5 separate regions of the Homo sapiens genome follow, and regions 2, 3, 4 and 5 are each linked to region 1. Evidence: promoter capture Hi-C in 16 types of primary human blood cells and fetal thymus (Javierre and others, 2016). All regions are on one chromosome and are shown on one strand. The core of a region is centred on a gene start or on the middle of the fragment in contact, and the rest is flanking DNA. Distances in the headings are between cores, read along the strand shown.

What was found. The method cuts DNA at HindIII sites, captures the fragments that hold promoters and counts their contacts. A CHiCAGO score of 5 or more calls a contact.
Region 2: a contact is called between a fragment that was not itself captured here and the fragment with the promoter of MAPK6 in region 1, in 1 of 17 cell types (total CD4 T cells). The highest score is 5.5, in total CD4 T cells.
Region 3: a fragment that was not itself captured here is called in contact with the fragment with the promoter of MAPK6 in region 1 in 3 of 17 cell types (fetal thymus, total CD8 T cells and erythroblasts); the score reaches 7.2 in fetal thymus.
Region 4: a fragment that was not itself captured here is called in contact with the fragment with the promoter of MAPK6 in region 1 in 1 of 17 cell types (total CD4 T cells); the score reaches 6.8 in total CD4 T cells.
Region 5: a contact is called between a fragment that was not itself captured here and the fragment with the promoter of MAPK6 in region 1, in 6 of 17 cell types (naive CD8 T cells, naive CD4 T cells, fetal thymus and 3 more). The highest score is 9.1, in naive CD8 T cells.

Annotation. Positions count from the first base shown.
Region 1 is chr15:52,017,034-52,021,112 of GRCh38, reverse strand. It overlaps MAPK6 (mitogen-activated protein kinase 6), which reads right to left and starts at 1,894. Exons shown (of 6, transcript NM_002748.4): 1 at 1,737-1,894. It overlaps MAPK6-DT (MAPK6 divergent transcript), which reads left to right and starts at 2,018. Exons shown (of 2, transcript NR_156732.1): 1 at 2,018-2,414. RefSeq lists enhancers at 834-883, 2,224-2,293 and silencers at 1,134-1,643, 1,944-2,053. The HindIII fragment of the contact is 8,244 bases long and covers 972-4,079 here.
Region 2 is chr15:52,733,587-52,737,665 of GRCh38, reverse strand. No RefSeq gene overlaps it. Among named protein-coding and RNA genes, the nearest start is that of ONECUT1, 55 kb to the left of the region's middle. The HindIII fragment of the contact is 3,457 bases long and covers 66-3,522 here.
Region 3 is chr15:52,648,554-52,652,632 of GRCh38, reverse strand. The region is part of intron 2 of ATOSA (atos homolog A); the gene reads left to right. Among named protein-coding and RNA genes, the nearest start is that of ATOSA, 29 kb to the left of the region's middle. The HindIII fragment of the contact is 3,083 bases long and covers 805-3,887 here.
Region 4 is chr15:52,629,250-52,633,328 of GRCh38, reverse strand. All of the region lies in intron 2 of ATOSA (atos homolog A), which reads left to right. Among named protein-coding and RNA genes, the nearest start is that of ATOSA, 48 kb to the left of the region's middle. The HindIII fragment of the contact is 4,403 bases long and covers 225-4,079 here.
Region 5 is chr15:52,569,354-52,573,432 of GRCh38, reverse strand. It overlaps a transcript of ARPP19 not described here. Among named protein-coding and RNA genes, the nearest start is that of ARPP19, 2.4 kb to the right of the region's middle. RefSeq lists enhancers at 3,874-4,003, 4,057-4,079. The HindIII fragment of the contact is 2,913 bases long and covers 806-3,718 here.

The DNA.
Region 1 (4,079 bases), core at 645-3,144:
CAAATCACTCTTCTCTGGATTTTTTAATAACAGAAAGTAGCCAACGACTACTTCTAATCCTCTTTTGCAAATAAATGAATTCCAGAATATCCTCATATACGAAGTTTTTTCTAAAATAGTCTCCATTTTCCAGTGTTTTCTTCTCAACAGTAATACCTAGGTGATCAAATATGTTCTGCTCAAATCTGGCATATTTTCTAGATTAACTGCAATTACTGAATTCAGGACATCAATGAATAATTTTACAAGCTTAAGGCAATTCTTAATAAATGATGTAACATATGTGAAATGACTTTACAATCCCTGGCACATAGCAAACACTTCATAAACATGTTTGAACAACTACTATCTAAAGACAAAGTTCCTTTCACCCAATTCAAAATTATTTTTTAAACATTAAAATCTGATATTTCTATGAAGAAATTCCTGATTTCAGGGCCAGGCCCTGTTTGGACCCTACATTCTTCTGGTCAGATCATTCTTTCCATCTCAGTTTTCCAGCGTTAAAGAGGGAGGACATGTGCAATTGGAACTGTAAGAGACAGGCTAGAAGAATCAGCCATCAGAAAATTACTCTGAAGCTGCTTGCTCTTCATTGTATGGCGTGTTAATTTTTCCCCTTGACAAATCATCTGTATCCGTTAAAAAAAAAAAAGTCATTACTGAGACTGCATCTTTAGCAATGAACACGAATTCTGCCGTTAATACAAGTAGGCTTCTAATTCCAACTCACCAGTCCCTTTCACTGGACCTTTTCCAATGAACAAGCAAAAGAAAAAATAAAACAGGAAAGGAATCAAGAAGCTCCCGCTGCACAGAGATCCCCCTAACACCTAAACCGGTTGGGTCCTACACTCGCCAAGAAACAAAAGGATGCCAAAACACCTTTACTTTTCGACACAACTCACAAGGCGGACTAAAATGCACAGCAAAGTGACAAGGCCCTTTTTGGTGAACCGACAAAACAAGCTTTCATTTGGGCACTTTTACAGACCACCACTTAAGGTCCCGAAAGAAGCTAAGGAAAGACTGTAGGGCCGAGGGAGGAAATTAGGAATTTCGTCTCCGAGTTTTCAGTACCTCATTCATGGCAAGACTCAAAACTTGGGCGGACTTCAGGGCTCTGAGACGAGCCGGGTGAGCGCTGCGCGCTACGCCACTGGAGACTTTGCCCGGCCGGAGTCAGCTGAGGCCGAGTCACCGGGTGGGATGGGGGAGGAGACGCGGGAGCATTTCGAAAGGCAGCGTGCCAGTAAGGCGAGACTCCACGCCACCTCATGTTCCCCGGGCCGCCGCCCCTCGCTCGCCCGCCCTCCGGTCCGGTCCGGCTGGGTTTCGAACCCGCGGAGCCAGGCGCAGGCGGCGGGACGGCAGCAGGCGTGCGGGGCCAGGGAGCGGGCGCGGCCTGGCAGGGCGACCGGCGAGGGGCGTGCCGGGTGGGAGGGGCGCGCTGGCCGCCTGGCCGGCCCCACGCGGGGACCCCAGCCCGCCGCCCGCCCGCCCGCGCGGGGACGCGCCGGCCAGGCCCGAGCGGGCGGGCAGGCGGGCGAGCAGGGGGCGGGCGGCAGACCGAACAAAAACGCCTTTGTTGAGCGGCAGCCGCCGGAGGGTCACACACAATGGAGGAGGGAGCCGGCTCCGCCGTCGCCGCCGCCGCCGCCGCCGCCGGGCCCGCCGCGGCGCCCTCCCGAGCCGCCCCGCCGGCGCACCCCGCACACGTACACACACACACTCACGGGACTTCTCCGACTCATCGAGAGAGTGCGGGGCTCGCGGACTGCCCCCAGTGTCGGCTCAGGTCTCCGGCTGTGCTGGCGGCAGCGGCGTCTCCGAGGCTCTCGCTTTGCCGCAGTCGCCGCCATGTAACCCCGACCCGCGAGAGAGGGCGAGGAAGAGGGGGCGGGGCTTCGCGGTGCCACGCCCCCTCACGTCACAGGCTCACTCCACGGGTTCTCCCGCCCCCGCCCTGCCCAGCGCACCCGCACGCGCCGGAATTTCCAGCGCCCGTGACTGGGCTGCGCGCGCCGCGGAGGCGGTGGGAAAGGCACGCGGCTCGTCCGGCGTCTCCTGGGGGCTTTGCCTGCGGGCGGGCAGGGAGGAAGACAGCTGGGGCCGTTTGCTCTACTACCTGCCCTGGCATTAAGGGAACAAAGTGACCAAACCCAGTGCCAGCGTTTACTAAGCACCTACTACGTGCAAGGCACTGGGCAATCCGAGAGGAAGAGGCCTCAGTCTCCAGGAAGGGTGGACCTTAAGATGGATTGGCTGGAAGGCGACAGCCCGAGCACAAGACAGACGCGTTAGAGGCCAATACTAAGGTCATTCATTCTGCCAGAGTATGGAGGAAGGCTTTCAGGAGTGGTCGCCAAGGTGGCCTTTCAGCTGGATCCCGGAGGAGCGGATATAACCAGGAGGTGGGGAGGGTGTTTCTGTGAGCAAAGACTGGGAGGCCAGAGTACCTGGCTTGTTGCAGGAACTGGGATAGGACAATTTGAATTTGGGAAGGGATGCACTATGAAACGTAGAAAGGTGGATGGGTGCCTTCTTGGGCCCACTTGGCTAAAAGCAAACTTACATTACTTATCATGGCTTATTGAGTCCAAGGAGCCTTTTCAGTGTTTATGTGAAATTTAAGTATTTATGAAATTAGAGACGCAGGTCAGCATATTTTTTCAATGACTTCATCACCATCTTGCTGAGAACCAGACATAGAATAGCCCTTCTAGTCATTATTATGGGCATCTTCAAGAAAGAGGCAAAGACCACTTCAAAAAGATCACAAAGGGCCAGGCGTGGTGGTTCACGCCTGTAATCCTAGCACTTTGGGAGGCCGAGACGGGCAGATCACCTGAGGCCAGGAGTTCGAGACCAGCATGGCCAACATGGTGAAAGCCCCGTCTCCACTAAAAATACAAAAAGTAGCCGGGTGTGGTGGCTCACACCTGTAATCCCAGCTACTCGGGAGGCTGAGGCAGGAGAATAGCTTGAACCCCGCGGGGGGTTGCAGTGAGCCGAGATCGCGCCAGGACACTCCAGCCTGGGCGAAAGGGCGAAACTCTGTCTCAAAAAAAAAAATCACAGAGTAATGAAGTTAAGTGGTTGGGGTGAGCTTGAATGCTTTATATTTTTTAATATTTAAAACAACGTCAGCTGAGTACCAGGTGTGAAGAAGAGGTAATGAGTGAAAAAAACCAAGAGAAAGGGGAGACTTGTTCCAACCGCAGAATTTCCAGCTTCTGCAACGAGAGCTCGTACCTTCAGCCCCACTGCCTCTGCTCTAGGCTCTCCTCTGATCCTCAGGACATTTTTCCTCTCACTCTTTGAGAACTCGTTTACCTTCCTTTTCCATCAATGTCTGATCACCCAGAGAAGGTGGGAGAATAAATACCAAGCACTGTGCCTTCCCTCAAGGAGCATTTAATCCAGTGTCACTGCTGACTTCCTGTGGATAATGCAAAGTTGGCTTACAATAGTAAGGGAGACCACTAAATTGACAGAATCTTTGTAGCATTTCAAAAGGGTGTCAGGCCTCTGAGCCCAAGCTAAGCCATCGTATCCCCAGTGACCTGCACATATACATCCAGATGACCTGAAGCAACTGAAGATCCACAAAAAAAATGAAAATAGCCTTAACTGATGACATTCCATCATTGTGATTTATTTCTGCCCCAACCTAACTGATCAGTGTACTTTGTAATCTCCCCCACCCTTAAGAAGGTTCTTTATAATCTCCCCCATCCTTAAGAAGATTCCTTGTAACTCTCCCCACCCTTGAGAATGTACTTTGTGAGATCCACCCCCTGCCCCCAAACCATTGCTCTTAACTCCACTGCCTATCCCAAAACCTGTAAGAACTAATGATAATCCACCACCCTTTGCTGACTCCTTTTTCAGACTCAGCCCGCCTGCACCCAGGTGAAATAAACAGCCTTGTTTTTCACACAAAGCCTGTTTGGTGGTCTCTTCACACGGACACGTGAGACAAAGGGGAGGTCAAGGATGGAATAATTACAAGATTTGGGGGATCTGGTTTTTGTTTGTTTGTTTGTTTGTTTGTTTTTGAGACAGAGCCTCGGTCT
Region 2 (4,079 bases), core at 545-3,044, 720 kb before region 1:
TAAAAATTATGGGGCATGTCAAAGGGCACAGAAGCTAGCTTGAAAGAGCTCCCAAAGCCTAAGCTTGGATAATTTGAACAACAAAATAAATAATGATAGTACTGGATTATAGTCCACAGAATAAAATATGCATGAGTCCATACTGAGCTAATTATATAATTGAATAGATACATAAATGGGGGAAAGGGACAGTTCTTCCTTATAGTAGAATTCCTATTTTAAAATGTAGGAGAGATGAAAAGATGAAAATAGGTAATCACAACTATGCAAACGAATACCGCATTAATAATTGCTGCAGGCAAGAACCATCTAGAAATTCTAAAGTCAATAGGTAAAGTATGGTAAGATATAGGATATTTGCATAATCTCAAAGCATTTTCCTGCAATACTTATTAATTGTGAAGGAAAAATAGCAATTTAACCAGGAGGAACTTGACAGTTCCCCCCTTCTTAACCAAGAGATGAAAGTTAGCATCACTACTAATAAATAAGACGTATCAACATCATGCATCCCCTCATATGATGCACTAAGAACATGGCAGTATTCTCGACAAAGACAGATTACCTCAACCTAATCATGAGAAAATAGCGGACAAACTGAGGGACATTTTACAAGATAATTGACCATTACTCTTCAAAAATGTGAAGGTCGTCGGGTGCAGTGGCTCACACCTGTAATCCTGTAATCCCAGCACTTTGGGAGGCCGAGACAGGCAGATGGCTTGAACCCAGGAGTTCAAAACCAGCCTGGGCAACATAAAAAAAAAAAACCTATATATGTAGTGGGGATAGGGTTTTATATATATTGTATATATATACACTATGTATATACTATATATATATACACACTATATATACTATATATAGTGGGGACAGGGTTTTATATGTAATATATATATGTATATATATATATATATATATATATATATATTAGCCAGGTGTGTTAGTCCATTCTCACACTGCTGTAAAGATAGTACCCGAGACTGAGTAATTTATAAACAAAGGAGGTTTAATTGACTCACAGTTCCCCAATGCTAGGGAGGCCTCAGGAAACTTACAATCATGGCAGAACGGGAAGCAAACACATCTTACATGGTGGCAGGCAGGGGAGAGCCAGCAAGGGAAAACTGCCTTATAAAACCATCAGATCTTGTAAGAACTCACTCACTATCCCGAGAACAGCATGGGGGAAACCATCCCCGTGATCCAATCACCTCCCACCCGGTCCCTCTCTCAACACTTGGGGATTATGGGGATTACAATTTGAGATGAGATTTGGGTGGGGACACAGAACCAAACCATATCACTAGGTGTGGTGGCACGCACCTGTGGTCCCAGCTACTCACGAGGCTGAGGTGGGAGGAGTTCCTGACCCCAGGAGGTCGAGGCTGCAGTGAGCCCTGATGGTCGCGCCACTGCACTCCAGCCTGGGTGACCCTGTCTCAAAAATAAAAATAAAAAATAAAAAAAATAAAGTGTGAAGGTCAAGAAAGATGGAGGAGCTATCACAGATTAGAGGAGTCCAGGAGACAAGACAAATAAATATAATAGAAGATAATGAATCATTGGATCCTGGACAAGAAAAAGAGCATTAGTGAGAAAGCTGGCAAACTTCAAATTATATCTGTGGAGTAATTAACGGTATTGTACAAATGTCCATTTCCTGGTTTCAATTATTGTCCTGCAGTTACTCTTAGGAATGTTAATATTAGGGAACCCTGAGTAAAGGCCAAGCAGAACTTCTTGTACCATTTGTACAACTTTTCTGTAAATCTAAAACTATTTCAACATAAAAAGTTTTAACACTCATTAAACAACTATGTCAAAATTCGTTTTTCCCTGAAAGCACAGTTGTGAACTCTTTCTTTGCTGATAGGTTGCTAACAAAATTATGTGAAAAGCCGCAATCCAGTCATTTGTAACACAGGCACCTTGGGCCTTAACCTTTTCCAGACCACAGCTCTTTAGTAATATACATTTTGGCCAGTAGGTGGCAGCACTTGACCAGTTTACCATCAGCAAAACCCAGGGGAAAAGGGAGCATAAAGAGAGGGAGGTAAAACAATGAGATATCCAGAACACAGGAGCAGAAGGTGACAAAGTCATTATTTGATGGACAGTCACTATAGGGAGATGCCATTTTTATGGGGATTTACATGATGAGGCAGGGAGGAATGAACTTGTAAACAGTGATGTAAGGCTTGGAGGCAAAATTACCTGCCCCTACCCCATCCCCACCCTATCCCCTACGCTTTCCCCTAGCCTGGGGCATCAGGAAGGAGCCCTAAGCATTACTTCTGGGTAATCACTGGGTGATTAATACCACACTGGTGAAAGAAGAATAAAGGGTGACTTGCAAATGTTTCACACTTTCAAAAAAATGAATTACAAAGAAATTATAAATTATATGCTAGTATAGGAAGTTCCATCATTTAAAACATATTTTAAAAATAAAACTATAGCCAAATTATGTATTTGTGTACATATCTATGTATGTATTTGGAGACGATCTTGCTCTGTCACCCAGGCTGGAATGCAGTGGTGTGATCACAGCTCTCTGCAACCTCAAACTACTGAGCACAAGCAATCCTCCTGCCTAAGCCTCCCAGGTAGCTAGGAATACAGGTGTGTGCCACCATGCCCAGCCTCCAAATTTATAATTTTTTGTTGCGGGCCTGGGAGGAGCTCCACTCAATTCTCTTCTGTCTTCTCTCACAAACCCAAAATCTGCTCACCATGTGCAGTTGCCCGAGCCTATACCTGACCACAGTTATCTCAGTTATCTGTTAGTTGCTGAGCCCCGGGGAGGTCAAGAAACTTGTTTTTGTTGTTTTTTTCTGTTTGTTTGTTTGTTTGGTCACCCAGGCTGGAGTGCAGTGGTGTGATCATAGCTCACTGCAACCTTGACCTTCTGGACTCAAGCTATCCTCTCGAGTTAGCTGGGACTACAGGTGTGCACCACCACGCCCAACTGATTTTAAAGTTTTTTGTAGAAATGGTCTCACTAAGTTGCCCAGGCTAGTCTCCAACTCCCAGGCTCAAGGGATCTCCCACCTTGGCCTCCTAAAGTGCTGGATTACAAGCATAAGCCACCGTGCCTGCCAAGAGACTTATTTAAAATACCAAGATTAACAAGTACCAGAGCTAGGACTTAAAGCCAAGACGTTGAGTAAGTCTATTCCCCCTTCCACAGTGCAGAAACCCATTCCAAACTCATGTCTTTTATCTGTGAAGGACAGGCTCAAAGGTGACAAGGATCTGAGTTGCATTTCAGCAGCAGATACCAAGGATTCCCTGATAAAGCTGAGTTTGCCAATTAGGCTGAACCCTCCCAGCCATGACTAAGACATATGAAATATTAATATGTATTTCAATAATGTTTCATATTCTGATTTTCCTAGGCGGGGAACTTCTGGTCCTCATTTCTCTACCCCACCTAACTAACCTTTTCTTTTCCCCAGTGGAAGGATAATTGTTGTGAAATGTAAAACCCAAAGTTTCTGACCAGAGCTTCCTGAAGCTTTTCCCAGAGTGACCTCAATCACTAGGCCTCAAACCAAACAAACAAACAAAGAAATCTATTTAAAGATATCCTTTCTACCACTCCTAATCCATAGCCTACTGCTAATGGACAGATGGGCATGGTGGTGCCTGCTCAGAGAGCTCCCCAGTGCTATCAAAATACTCAGTCAACGCTCACTGCCCAGCAGGCTGCACCTCCTCCCAGCCCACTCAGCAGAGCAGCCACTTGGAAGGATGTGTAGGACATGGCCTTCTGAATCAGCCAGAATCCAGCAGGGCTCCCTGGGACCTAGGCTTGAGGGATATTAGGACAGACAGGAATGAGCTTAAAGAGGCAGTTCCAATGGGAGCTGTTCCTGACTCTCAGGTCCAGGCCCAGGTTGGGGGCCACTAAGGGCAGCTGTCTCTATAGGAACCTCAAGGTCTAGTCCAAATCTTCCAGCCCAGGAAGCTGGAGCGCACCGATAATAGTTGGTTCTTCTCACTGGTTCCTCCTGAGAAAGGACTTCTTAGAAAAGAGAGACTCAGGCATGATTGAGGTTTCTATGCTTGGAGGG
Region 3 (4,079 bases), core at 1,097-3,596, 630 kb before region 1:
TTTAGTCCTCTTAAAAGGTACTGCATGCATTTGAGGAGAGACCATTTCAGGACCTATCCCATTTTAAATATGTAACAGGTTGTGCTTTTCTAGGAATTTGTGAAGTTTGTTGTAAAATACTTTATATAAAGTTCCAGGTATATGAAGGTTGACAATGCTTTATTCTGATTGTTGTAAATTTTTGTATTTATACATTTTCAGAGGGTTTCACTTGGTAGAACCTGATTTAATTTAGATGTGAAGTAACTGATTCCTTCCACAACCCTTCTTTGTCTTCAGTTTATGTGCATCACTAACTGAAATAAATTTTTGTCTTACGAATTTCTCTGTTTTAAAAGCAACTGAAGAAACACATTTCAGGGGCAAACGCTAGAATACTTTGCCATTATCAGTCTACTGTTCTTTCCTTTCAAGTTGCCTAAACACAGCTGAGTTTGTAAGACGAGCAAAGAAAACATGACAGTGCTGCCAAGTAGACAGGAAGCTGTAGTGGACCTAGCGAGCAGGGGAGGTTGAGCACACCCTCTGTCCAATCAGCTGTGAGTGCTGTTGCTATGTGCGCTCTTACTCTGCTGCCTTTGTGAAAAACCTTACACGGAGGGAAGCGGGATCAGCACCCAACGCTGAACATTTGTTTTAACCGCTGCAGACATCTGGATCCCTCAGTTACTGATAGTATAGCTATTGATAGCCAGAAGGCAACTTCCTTTATACAAGGATTCCAGTATGGTTTTCAGTGGAAACAAAGGGCTTCACAGAGAAGGTGTGTAGTGAAGTGTTTTTTAACGGCTTTATTTTTAAGCTTCCAATTTTCTGTAGCTGTTTACCAGTTGGCTGTGGTGCTTGCTTTGCATGGATTTTTAATAAATAGGTCTAGGAAAATTATCTCACTTTGAAAACCATTGAACTTAGAGAATTTTCTTTAGCTTCATATAGCCTGTTTTCTTTGAACAGCAGTACTGAAAAGATTATTAAAATGCTGAACTGAACAATGAGTAGGAAGAAAAGAAACCAAGTACAATGTGCTCACTTTAATGGGGAAAAAATGTGATAGAAATGAGAATACAGGGAAGAGAATGTGCATTAGCCAGAAGCATTAACTGTATGTGGGGGCAGGAGGTATTTTTTAAATTAAAGCTGTTAAGACAAATGTATTTTAAATAAGCTGCATATTTTTAATTGAATTCATGTTTCTGAATTTGACAAAGATTGTCAGAATTTAACTAAGTGAGATTTTTGACATAGTTTAAGGAATTGGTGTGCCAAAATCTTTTTATAAAGCATTTCTGAAAATCCTACCTCAAATTGTGCAATCTCTTAATTATTTAATCCATTGACTAGTTCTGTGCAGTTCAGATAAAGCATCATAATTCAACCGCAAAGTCAGTGTAGTGTTCTATTAAACATCCATATAGAAAACTGAAGGATAAGGGATTTTGAAGACAACATACAAGGTTAAACTAGTATTTTAAAATTGAAGTAGGCCTCCTAAATGTAATAATTGCATATCTGACTTAGTTAATACTTCAAATATAGTCAAATCTTATTAAACTGTACTAATATAATATATGTGATAATTGAACAGAGTGTAGGTTACCATTTGTTTATATAGGATCTGGAAAAATTGGTCTGTTCAACAGATTATAGGAAAGTTTTAAAGTGTTTTAATAAACAAAAGGTCTTTTTGTATCTTTCTCAAATACTGTGAAATTAAAGTTTACATATGTGATTTAGCTAATGGTTCTTTTAATTAAAGCAGAGCAGACTAATTAGCATATTGCCCATTTTACGAAGGATCCGTATTGAGCTAATAACCGGCTTTTCCTTTGCTTTTTCGTTTTACATGGCTAAGTGGCCTTTAGTTCACTCAGTGATGTATGTCTGATGAGTAAAGTCAGTATAAGCTCAGAGTTAATATTAGGGCTTTGTTATCTCTACAAACTATATAGTTTGGAATAGGATGGGTTTTGTTGTTGTTCTTTTCAAAAAATACCTGTCATTAGAAAGTCTTAACAGTGTTAGCATTTCTGGTAAGGAGAGATATTTCTTTTCTTTAAAGAGAACTCAAAATATTATCCCATGCTTTTGTGCCCTTTGCTGATCTTTGTAACAATACTATGTATATAACATTTGTATTAAAAAGATGTCTAATAATTGGTGAAAATTTACAAAATAGTCCTTAAAGATTAAAAAAATGTTTTACGTAGACCTACATGTGGCTGAAGTTTAAAAGACTGGCATTTCTTAGATTTTCAAGTTTGTAAGGTGCAGCCAAAAACTTGAATTTGATAGAAGTTATAAAAATTATAGCAAAATAAAGTTATATTATTTGGACTTGGTGGCCTCCACAATATAAAGCACTCACTTCAAGAAGAGCAGCTGTGTGTAGAAGGGGTAGGGGTATGAAAGGGAGTTTGGAGTGAGAGGCAGACACAGGCAGAGAGGACTCAAGTTTGTTAAATATGACTAACCACATGAAAGTCAATCTAGCAATTTTCATTTTTTAGCTGTAACTCTTATGAATTACTAATTTTATTTTCTAATTATAGAACCATAAAAACCAAAGTTTTGTTTAAATTGATTTGCTACCCATTTTATGTTGGTTTATTTCATAAAAATTAATAGAGCCTCCAAGAGAAAGGCTATTTCTCATTCATATGCTGCAAAAGATGGGGGAACATGAAATTGTAAGAAAGTTGAGTGTACTGCTGTGTCACACAGAGGCTTTGCCATTGTGTTCAGGAGGAATATTATTGGCAGAATTCCAGACATTATTGCTGGGCTTAGCACCTAAAAATGTTTTATATACTGGAGCATCTGAAAGTTCCTATTCAGTAGCAGAACTTCAGGGTAGTTGAGGTTTATAATCTAGTCAGTTATAATAACATTGCTAGCATATTTCAGTTTTTTGGATTTGTCTATTATTTGACAATATAATTTTTATTGTCTTTGTCTATGTCATATCTTTAAATTGGCTATTGTTTTGTGCTTATGGAAAAATACTTTAATTCTCAAAAACAGTGATTTCTTTTTTGTTTTTGCCTCTTTATAAGGAATAGCAAATAGAAGTGCTAGTATTTACTAGATGCAGTGATTGCTACAGTTGGTTTTAAGTAAAACAGATTGTTTTTGATTATTTTGAAATCAGGCAATAATATATAATGCTGTTTACAGTTCTTTAAAAAATATGTAACTTAAAAACTCAGATTGGGAAGGGGTAACAATCTGAGTTTTTCTTTTTCTCTAAGTGTTCTGTGAAAATCTTTTTTTAAGTCGTTCCTACTTCAGGTATTATCACAAATGTTTGATTTCTATATGTATGCCTTAAGTGATATATGACACATTTTTTTCCTTGACTCTTCCTTGCGGAAATTTCATTACTTGTTCATAGTTTGAATCTAAGAAATATTTGCTTTTCATAGTCAGCAGGGCCAAAACTTTGGTCTTGACAACTTTTTGTCAGGCATTTTCACATATCGACAGTGTTTTTGCATAAACTGTATTGCTTTTGCAAGTATATAGTAAATTTTTTTCTTAATCTTCAGATGTTATAGTATCAAAAATTCAAAGACCTAAGTTTTAAAAATGTAATTGTTTGCAGTATTACTTGAATCTATTATATAATCCTTTGTGATGAGGCTCAGTTATAAAAGTGACAGCATGAGGACTATTGAGAAACTGGAAATATCTTTCTGTTCTTTCTTCACTGGATTCCTCAGTTTTACTCACTGAAAGACTTCTGGACATCATAGGACTTGAAGAGAAGGTTTATAATAAGCCCAGGAACAGTAAAATTATAAATTTGAGGAAGTAGTCAAGATAGAGTATAAAAAGTAATCAGCCCCTAAGGCTCATACATGGATGGGCCTCAGATTTTGCTATAAGCTTCCTGTCATCTGTCATATGAGAGGGATGCTGTGTGAATCAGTTATGTATATTCCTGTTCTTTAACATTGCTAAATTTTTACCATTAAAATTTATGTTGGTTTCTGTTTTCTTAATATTTTGAAGGTGTTTTGTTTTTTGAGGTTCAAATTTTGGGTGGTGGGTACAAACATACAGTTAGAAGAAATCGTTCT
Region 4 (4,079 bases), core at 1,177-3,676, 610 kb before region 1:
GTATAAGAATAAATTAGATCTGTTACTCTGTCCTGGCTGAAAACAGCCCAGTGATTTTCAAAGTCAATTAGCCACCCCACCAGCCTTGTGGAAAAATTCATAAAAGGAGTGAATATAGAAATCAGGTTTTCCCTCCAGCCTATCACCTAGTAGGAAGATAAGGCTTATGGTAAAGTCCTGTCCTCTCTATGTATACAGGCCCAACCTGAGTAAAGAGAAAAGCTTCCCTTCTCCCCTAATACATATCATTCCCATTTCATAAATGAAGAAATGAAGTAACATGCCTGTACTTGCTCTGATTGGACTTACTAGATCTTACTCCCTTCTTTGTAAAATTGAATTCTACAGTGAATGTTTTACTTACTGCAGTTACAAAACAGTTATTAAAGGACAATTTTATTTTCAAATCTTTGCATGAATTTTAGTTATCACTTTTCCTTGGCCATCAGTTATGTTATATATAATCCCATTTCATTTCTTAAAGGGGGAAGATTTTATGCTTCATGGCATTCCTTGAATAAAATACATTATGAATGAAATACTTCATGAAATCAATAATTTCATAATTTATATTCTGGTCCTTTGTATAAAATCTTTGCTAAGAATGTCTTCTGACCATATGGAGAAGTATGTTTATAGTCATTTTTAAAATATACTTGTCAACTACACTGGGCTTGCTATTTAAAGGTCAAATACTAACCGAAAACTAATTAATAATTCCTATCATAGCAAAGTGTGCCAAAAATCAAAGGGCAGAGTCCTTTTTCCTCATACATTTCTTAGGGGTAAGAATTATTATTTCACCTTTCCCAGAGTTACTCAGTATTTGGATTTATGCCTACTTGATCAAAAAGCCTATTCTTTTCTCCTAATTATGCTACACTGTTTCACCATCACAGTTCCATAGAAAAGTATCAGATTTCAGTATTTCAGGTTTAAAATTAGTTATAATTTTGGAATCTTATTTAACCCTTAATAAAATTAACTTTTATGGTATTATTTATTTAAACCAACAGAAGAAATTATTATAAGCAACATGGTTCTCAAGCAATAGATCATCTCTTACTAGAGAAATAAGGATTAAGAGAACTACTTGCTTAAGTTGTAGTCAATATTTTATGTTCACTAAATTGAGGCACTGTAACTTTTGAACAGTATCATGAACTAAAATTCAGATGAAATTAGTCTTTTCCACTTTAAGATGTTTTTAGTTAATGGGTATACAGCTACCTTCCTATAATGAAGGAAAACTTATTTAAGAAATACTGTCTGGTCAGGTGCAATGTAATCCCAGCACTGTCAGCCTACACCTGTAATCCCAGCACTTTGGGAGGCTGAAGCTGGAGGATCGCTTGAGGCCAGGAGTTTGAGACCAACTTGGGTAACATAGCAAGGCTCCTGTCTCTACAGAAAAGTTTAAAAAAATAGCTGGGCATGATGGCGCATTCCTGTAGTCCTAGCTACTTGGGAGCCTGAGGTAGAAGGATCACTTGAGTCCAGGAGTTTGAGGTTACAATGGGACTGCCTATTCAATTTCAAAACACACTTTGAACCATGCAATTTCTTGGGTTAGCATTGTGTTTTAGAACACTTTAGTTATTTGTCCAGCCAACGAGGAAATCTAACTTTTCGTCAGTAGCTTTCAGTTTGAGTGTTAAATTCGAGATATGTTGCTTGCTTTAAAACTTGTTTCTTACATTAAAAAATGTAAAATGCATTCTAGAAATTATATATATATGGCAAACTAATTTGCCATAACACATAGGCGTAGGTGTTTGTCCTATTACTTGGATTTATCAGCTCTGTATCCTTTGGAAAGTTGAACAATATTGTAAGTTGAATATTGTCTTTTTTCCCTTTATACCATAATTCTTCACCTTAATATTTTCATCAACTCATAAAATCTTAAAGTTGGAAGACTTTTTTTAAGAAGTGGTGTACTTTGATAGTTAAAGTAACCTAGAACAAAAGAGGTTAATATGGGAGAATGTGGACCTCATGAAATCCAGCACAGTGCTTATTTTTCACTAACTAGTACCACCTTACAAACAGTGAGACCTAGGCAAGAGTGAGATGTGCAGAATTCCCAGACTTCAGTTTTCCACATACATGCTGAAATTTTAAAAACAGGTTTATTTTGTCATACATGAGACAATGTGAATTTTTTAAAATTATGAAGCATATCATAGCTACAAAGAGCATATACATTAAAGATGGTTTAGAGAACAGCAAAATGACCTCCCATGCAGTTGCTACTCAGCTTGAGAAGCAGAACCTTGTGTGCTGACTCCTGTGTTCCTCTCCTCAGGTACATCCCCAAAATATCCACTGTTCTGAATTCTGTGTTGTCTCTTTTAAAATATTTTATCACATATATAACCATAAACTATGTTGTTTAGCTTGTTTTTTAAACTTTTATGCAAATAGAATCATCCTATAGTGTTCTACAACCTGTATGTAGCTGTAGGTTATTATTCTTGTACTTACGTTTACTCCTGTATCCCATTATATGAGTGTATCACAGCATTCATTCTATGGACGATAAACACTTGTTTTTTCCAAAATTTTGTTGTTATAGACAGTGCTTCTTTGAACATTCTTATATTAGTCTCCTAGCATACATGTACAAGATTTTCTCTAGGTTATTTACCTAGGAGAGTAATTGAGTTGTAGAGTATGTACTTCTTAACTAGGTAATGCCAGGTTATTTTTGAAAGTGTTTGCACCAGTGTGTACCTTTACTAGCAGTGTATGACCACTTCTGTTGCTCTATACCTTTAGCAATATTTAGTCAATTTTCCTGCACAATCCTTTGAATGTGAAATCATATGTAATTGTAGTTTTAATTTGTATTTTGCAATGATTAAGGAGTTCTACATCTTATATTCATTAACCTTTCAGGATTCTTAGGTGAAATATTCTAGATATTCATCTTTTGTCAGCATTTGCATTGCAAATATTTTCTTTGTTTTTGGCATGTCTTCTCAGTCTCTGTGGTGCCTTTGGTGTAGCACTTCATCTTCCTTAGTCCATAGGAACCTTCGTAATGCCTGTGGTTTAATAAAGACAAGTAACTCTGAACTTTCAACAACCAACTTGGGAAACAAAGTTGTAGAACATTAGTTTTTAGAAATTTGGGGCTACTTTTAAGCTATATTTATAGGAGTGCTAGTAGAACACATGTGAGGAATACAGGGAGGCCTACTTTGGGATGTTTGAAAGATGGGAGTCTGGGAAAAGAACTTGTTCAGAACACACAGGAAACAAAAGTACAGTAATGACTTTCCTTAGGTACCCCACCACCACCAACGTCCTGCCCTAACCTGTTGAACTTCCTCTAGCTCTAATTTTACTCTATTGTATACAAATATTTTTTGTTTTTTGTCTTATTTTCCTGCTGTATATTGTTTCTACTTCATTTGTTTTGTTTCTCCCTGCTGCTTCCCCAATTCTGTCTTCATTTTGATTTCAATTCTTAATTACTTATCCTTCTAGTCTTTTCTTTTTTTTTATTTTTTAATTTTTTTTAGATGGAGTCTTGCTCTGTTGCCCAGGCTGGAGTGCAGTGGCACAATCTCAGCTCACTGCAACCTCTGCCTCCCGGGTTCAAGCGATTCTGCTGCCTCAGCCTCTCGAGTAGCAGAGATTACAGGTGCCCGCCATCAGGCCCAGATAATTTTTGTATTTTTAGTAGAGACAGGATTTCACCATGTTGGCCAGGCTAGTCTCGAACTCCTGAGCTCATGATGTGCCCTCCTCAGCCTGCCAAAGTGCTGGGATTACAGGCATGAGCCACGATGCCTGGCCTTTTTTTTTTTTTTTAACTACCCTTACCTCCACTGAGGATTTTTAGGGCATGAAAGGATTCCGTATGATACTCTCATGGTGGATACATGTCATTAACATTTTTCCAAACCCAGAAAATGTATGACATCCTGAGTGAACCCCAAGATAAACTATGGACTTTGAGTGATTATGATGTGTCAGTGTAGGTTCATCAAGTGTAACAAATATACCACTCTTTTGAGGTTGTTCATAATCGAGGAGGCCACACAGGTATTGGGGAGGGGGTATAATCT
Region 5 (4,079 bases), core at 1,013-3,512, 550 kb before region 1:
TGAGCTACAATATTTTGAAAGGATTTTTTTTTTCTGAGCAGTAGGTCTCAATAGTGAGCTTAAAATATTAACTAAACCATGTTGTAAACAGATGTGCTGTCATCCAGGCTTTGTAGTTCCATTTGCAGAGTACAGGTAGAGCAGATTTAGAACCCTAGGATTTTCAGAATAGTAAATGAGCATTGGCTTCAGCTTAAAGACACCAGCCACAATAGCCCCTAAGAAGAGAGTCAGCCTGTCTTTTGAAGCTTCGAAGCCGGGCATTGACTTCCTCTAGTATGAAACTCCTGGATGACATTTTCCAACAGAAGGTCGTTTTGTCCACATTGAAAATCTGTTGCTCATTGTAGCCCCCTTAGTCAATTAGCTTAGCTAGATCTTCTGGATAACTTGCTGCAGCTTCTCCATCAGCACTTTCTACTTTGCCTTATACTTTTATGTTATGAAGATGGCTTCTTTCTTTAAACTTCATGAACTCACCTCTGCTAGCTTCAAACTTTTCTTCTTTAGCTTCCTCACCTCTCTGAGACTTCACAGAATTGAAGACAGCTAAGCCCTTGTTCTGGATTAGGCTTTGGCTTAAAGGAGTGTTGTGGCTGGTTTGCTCTCCTATACAGATCACTAAAACTTGGACCATATCAGCGATAAGACTGTCTCGTTTTCATATCATTCATGTGTTCACAGGAGTAGCACTTTTAATTTCCTTCAATAACTTTCCTTTGCATTCATAACTTGGCTAACTCTTCGTCACAAAAGGCCTAGTTTTTGGCTGTCTCAGCTTTTGACATGCCTTCCTCACGAAGCTTAATCATTTCCAGCTTTTTAAAAATGTTTAATCTATTTATTTGTTTATTTAGAGACCGGGTTATGAGACTGGCTAATTTTTGTATTTTTGGTAGAGACGAAGTTTACCATATTGCCAAGGCTGGTTTCAAACTCCTGGGCTCAAGCAATCCACCAGCCCCAGCCTCTCAAAATGCTGGGATTACAGGCATGAGCCACCGCACCTGGCCATTTCTAGCTTTTGATTTAAAGGAAGAGATATGCAACTCTTCCTTTCACTTGAACACTTAGAGGCCATTGTAGGGTTATAATTTGGCCTAATTTCAATATCGTTGTGTCTCAGGGTATAGGGAAGCCCAAGGAGAGAGAGACAGGGGAATGCTGGTTGGTACAGCAGTCAGAGCATACACATTTATTGGTTAAGTTCACTGTCTTATGTGGGAGTGGTTTGTGGTACTCCCCCAAAATTACAATAGTAATGTCAAAGATAACTGATTACAGATCACTATAATAGATATAATAATAATGAAAACGTTTGAAATATTGCAAGAATTACCCAAATGTTACACACGATCACAAAGTAAGCACATGGTGTTGGAGAAATGGCGCCTATAGAGGCTGGATGCAGGATTGCCACAAACCTTCAATTTGTGAAAAATGCAGTATCTAGAAGTACAATAAAATGAAGCCCCAAAAAACAAGGTATCCCTAGATGGCAGTTTAGACTATGAATGTCCACCGGGCGCAGTGGCTCAAGTCTGTAATCCTAGCACTTTGGGAGGCCGAGGCAGGCCGAGCACTTGAGGCCAGGAGTTTGAGACCAGCCTGGCCAACATAGCAACACCCCGTCTTTACAAATTATTATTATTATTATTTGAAACAGTTTTGCTCTTGTTGCCCAGGCTGGAGTGCAGTGATATGATCTCAGCTCACTACAACCTCCATCTCCTAGGTTTGAGCAATTCTCCTGCCTCAGCCTCCCAAGTAGCTGGGATTACAGGTGCCCACCACCATGCCCAGCTGATTTTTGTATTTTTAGTAGAGATGGTTTTACCACGTTGGCCAGGCTGGTCTCGAACTCCTGACCTCAAGTGATCCACCCGCCTCGGCCTCCCAAAGTGCTGGGATTACAGGTGTGAGCCACCGTGCCAGGCCTACAATTATTAAAAATACAAAAATTAGCCGGGCATGGTGGCATGTGCCTGTGGTCCCAGCTACTTGGGAAGCTGAGGCAGGAGAATCACTTGAACCTAGAAGGCAGATTGCAGTGAGCTGAGATGGTGCCACTGCACCCCAGCCTGGGTGGCAGAGTGACACTTTGTTTCAAAAAAGAAAAAAAACTATGAAGGTGGAAGTTATTTCCTGGAGGCTGTGTAAACATAGAAGAGAAGGAGATCCAAGGACAGAACTGTTAGAATCCTCCCATTAAGAGGCAGGTTAAGATTCAACAGGGAGGTTAAGTAGGAGGAAATCCATGAGACAATAGTATCCTGGAGATCAAGAGAAGGAAGTTTTGACAAACAGGGTGCTGGGGACCAGTGTGCAGTTTTACACATTAAGGTTCATAATGATGCAGAGTGGTGTTAGTTGGGAAAGAATGGCTTTCCAGACAGGTCCTCATTGTGGAGCATTGCCCATGGTGAATTCTCCATTTGACCAAAGTCTGCCCCCAGAAATTCAAACTTCCCCTTCTGCGAGTGTCACTATCAGAAACAGATTCTTTTTATCCAAGGTCACATAGCCAATTTTAAAAAAAAGGCCAGATGTGGTGGCTCGCTCCTATAATCCCAGCACTTTGGGAGGCCGAGGCGGGTGGATCACTTGAGGCCGGGAGTTCGAGACCAGCCTGGACAACACGGCAAAACCCTGTCTCTACTAAAAATACAAAAAATTATCAGGGTGTGGTGGTGGGCAACTGTAATCCCAGCTACTTGGGAGGCAGAGGCAGGAGAATTGCTTGAACCCAGGAAGTGGAGGTTGCAGTGAGCCGAGATTGTGCCATTGCACTCCAGCCTGGGTGACAGAGTTGAGACTCTGTCTCAAAAAGAAAAAGAAAAAAAAGTTTTTTTTCTTTTTGTAGAGACAGAGATTTGCCATGTTGGCCAGGCTGGTCTTGAACTCCTGAGCTCGAGCGATTTGCCCGCCTTGGCCTCCCAAAGTGCTGGGATTACGAGTGAGCCACTGTGCCCAGCCACAGCCAATTTTCTTGAGGCTGAGTTTCATCATTAAGTGTATGTCTATCAGATTTTAACTCAAGTTCACAAATACATTGATATAGGACATATACTAGAACGTCAGTCAATTTATTAATAAAAATACAACTGTTAAATGCTTCAGTGGCCTAACTACTGCACTCTTCTTTCTCTCTGCAGTTCTGCTTAAGGGAAAGGCAAATTTTCAGTATGTTACTTTGTGAGTATAGAAGGAGAACAAATATGTCGTGGATCTTACAGTTTCTCAGCTAGCCCAGCGTGAGACATTCTTAAGGGATATCTTTGTCAAACAGTTGGCCTGTTGAACCCTTTTATTTTCAATACTTCCTTGGCTGACAAATGCCTTCCTTCGTTTCTCCAAAAGGAGTGCAATATTAACTCTTTTTGTTTTTCTAGTTGCAATTCCAGTGCAATTCTTCCTGTCTGAGATTCTACATCCTGGTTGAGTTTCGATGGTTTCCAAATTCCTTATCCAGGCATTTAGGGTCTTTCAATTGTTCCCCTGCCCCCAGAAATGCATTCATTTTCTGTGGCTTTTTACTAGTTTAACTTTTAGAGGGCAATCTTATTTCCAAGTTTCTGAGGGACACTTTGTTGGAACCAACAAACATTGCGAGTAACTATTCAGATATCAAGTAGAATGAGGATTCAGTAAGAAGCCGCAGGACTTGGCAAATAAAAAGGTCATTGGGGGAGCTCAATGCTAGCAGTTTCGGTAAGCTTGTGGGAGTGGACCCCCTGGGAGTGGACAAATGAATCTGAATTCCTTCGTTAGATATCTAGGAAGTGCTGGACCCTCAGAGTAAAATATAAGTAATTACAGACGAGATCCCTGCCCTGGTGCGGCTTATCTGAGAAGGAAAGGTGACCTAAAGTCACGACAATTGTGTAATGATACAGTTCATGTTGTTGAGGAACTGTACAGGGCTGTGACAGCCTTTAAGAGGTGGCTCTGGCCTAGTGTAGAGGTTTAGGAAGGAAAGGTTCTGAGGCAGAGACGTAGGACTGGAGATGTGAAGGCGTGGCAGAGTGGAGCAAGACTTTTGGCGTGCCCAAAAGACAGCCTGTGTGGCTACAGAGCGG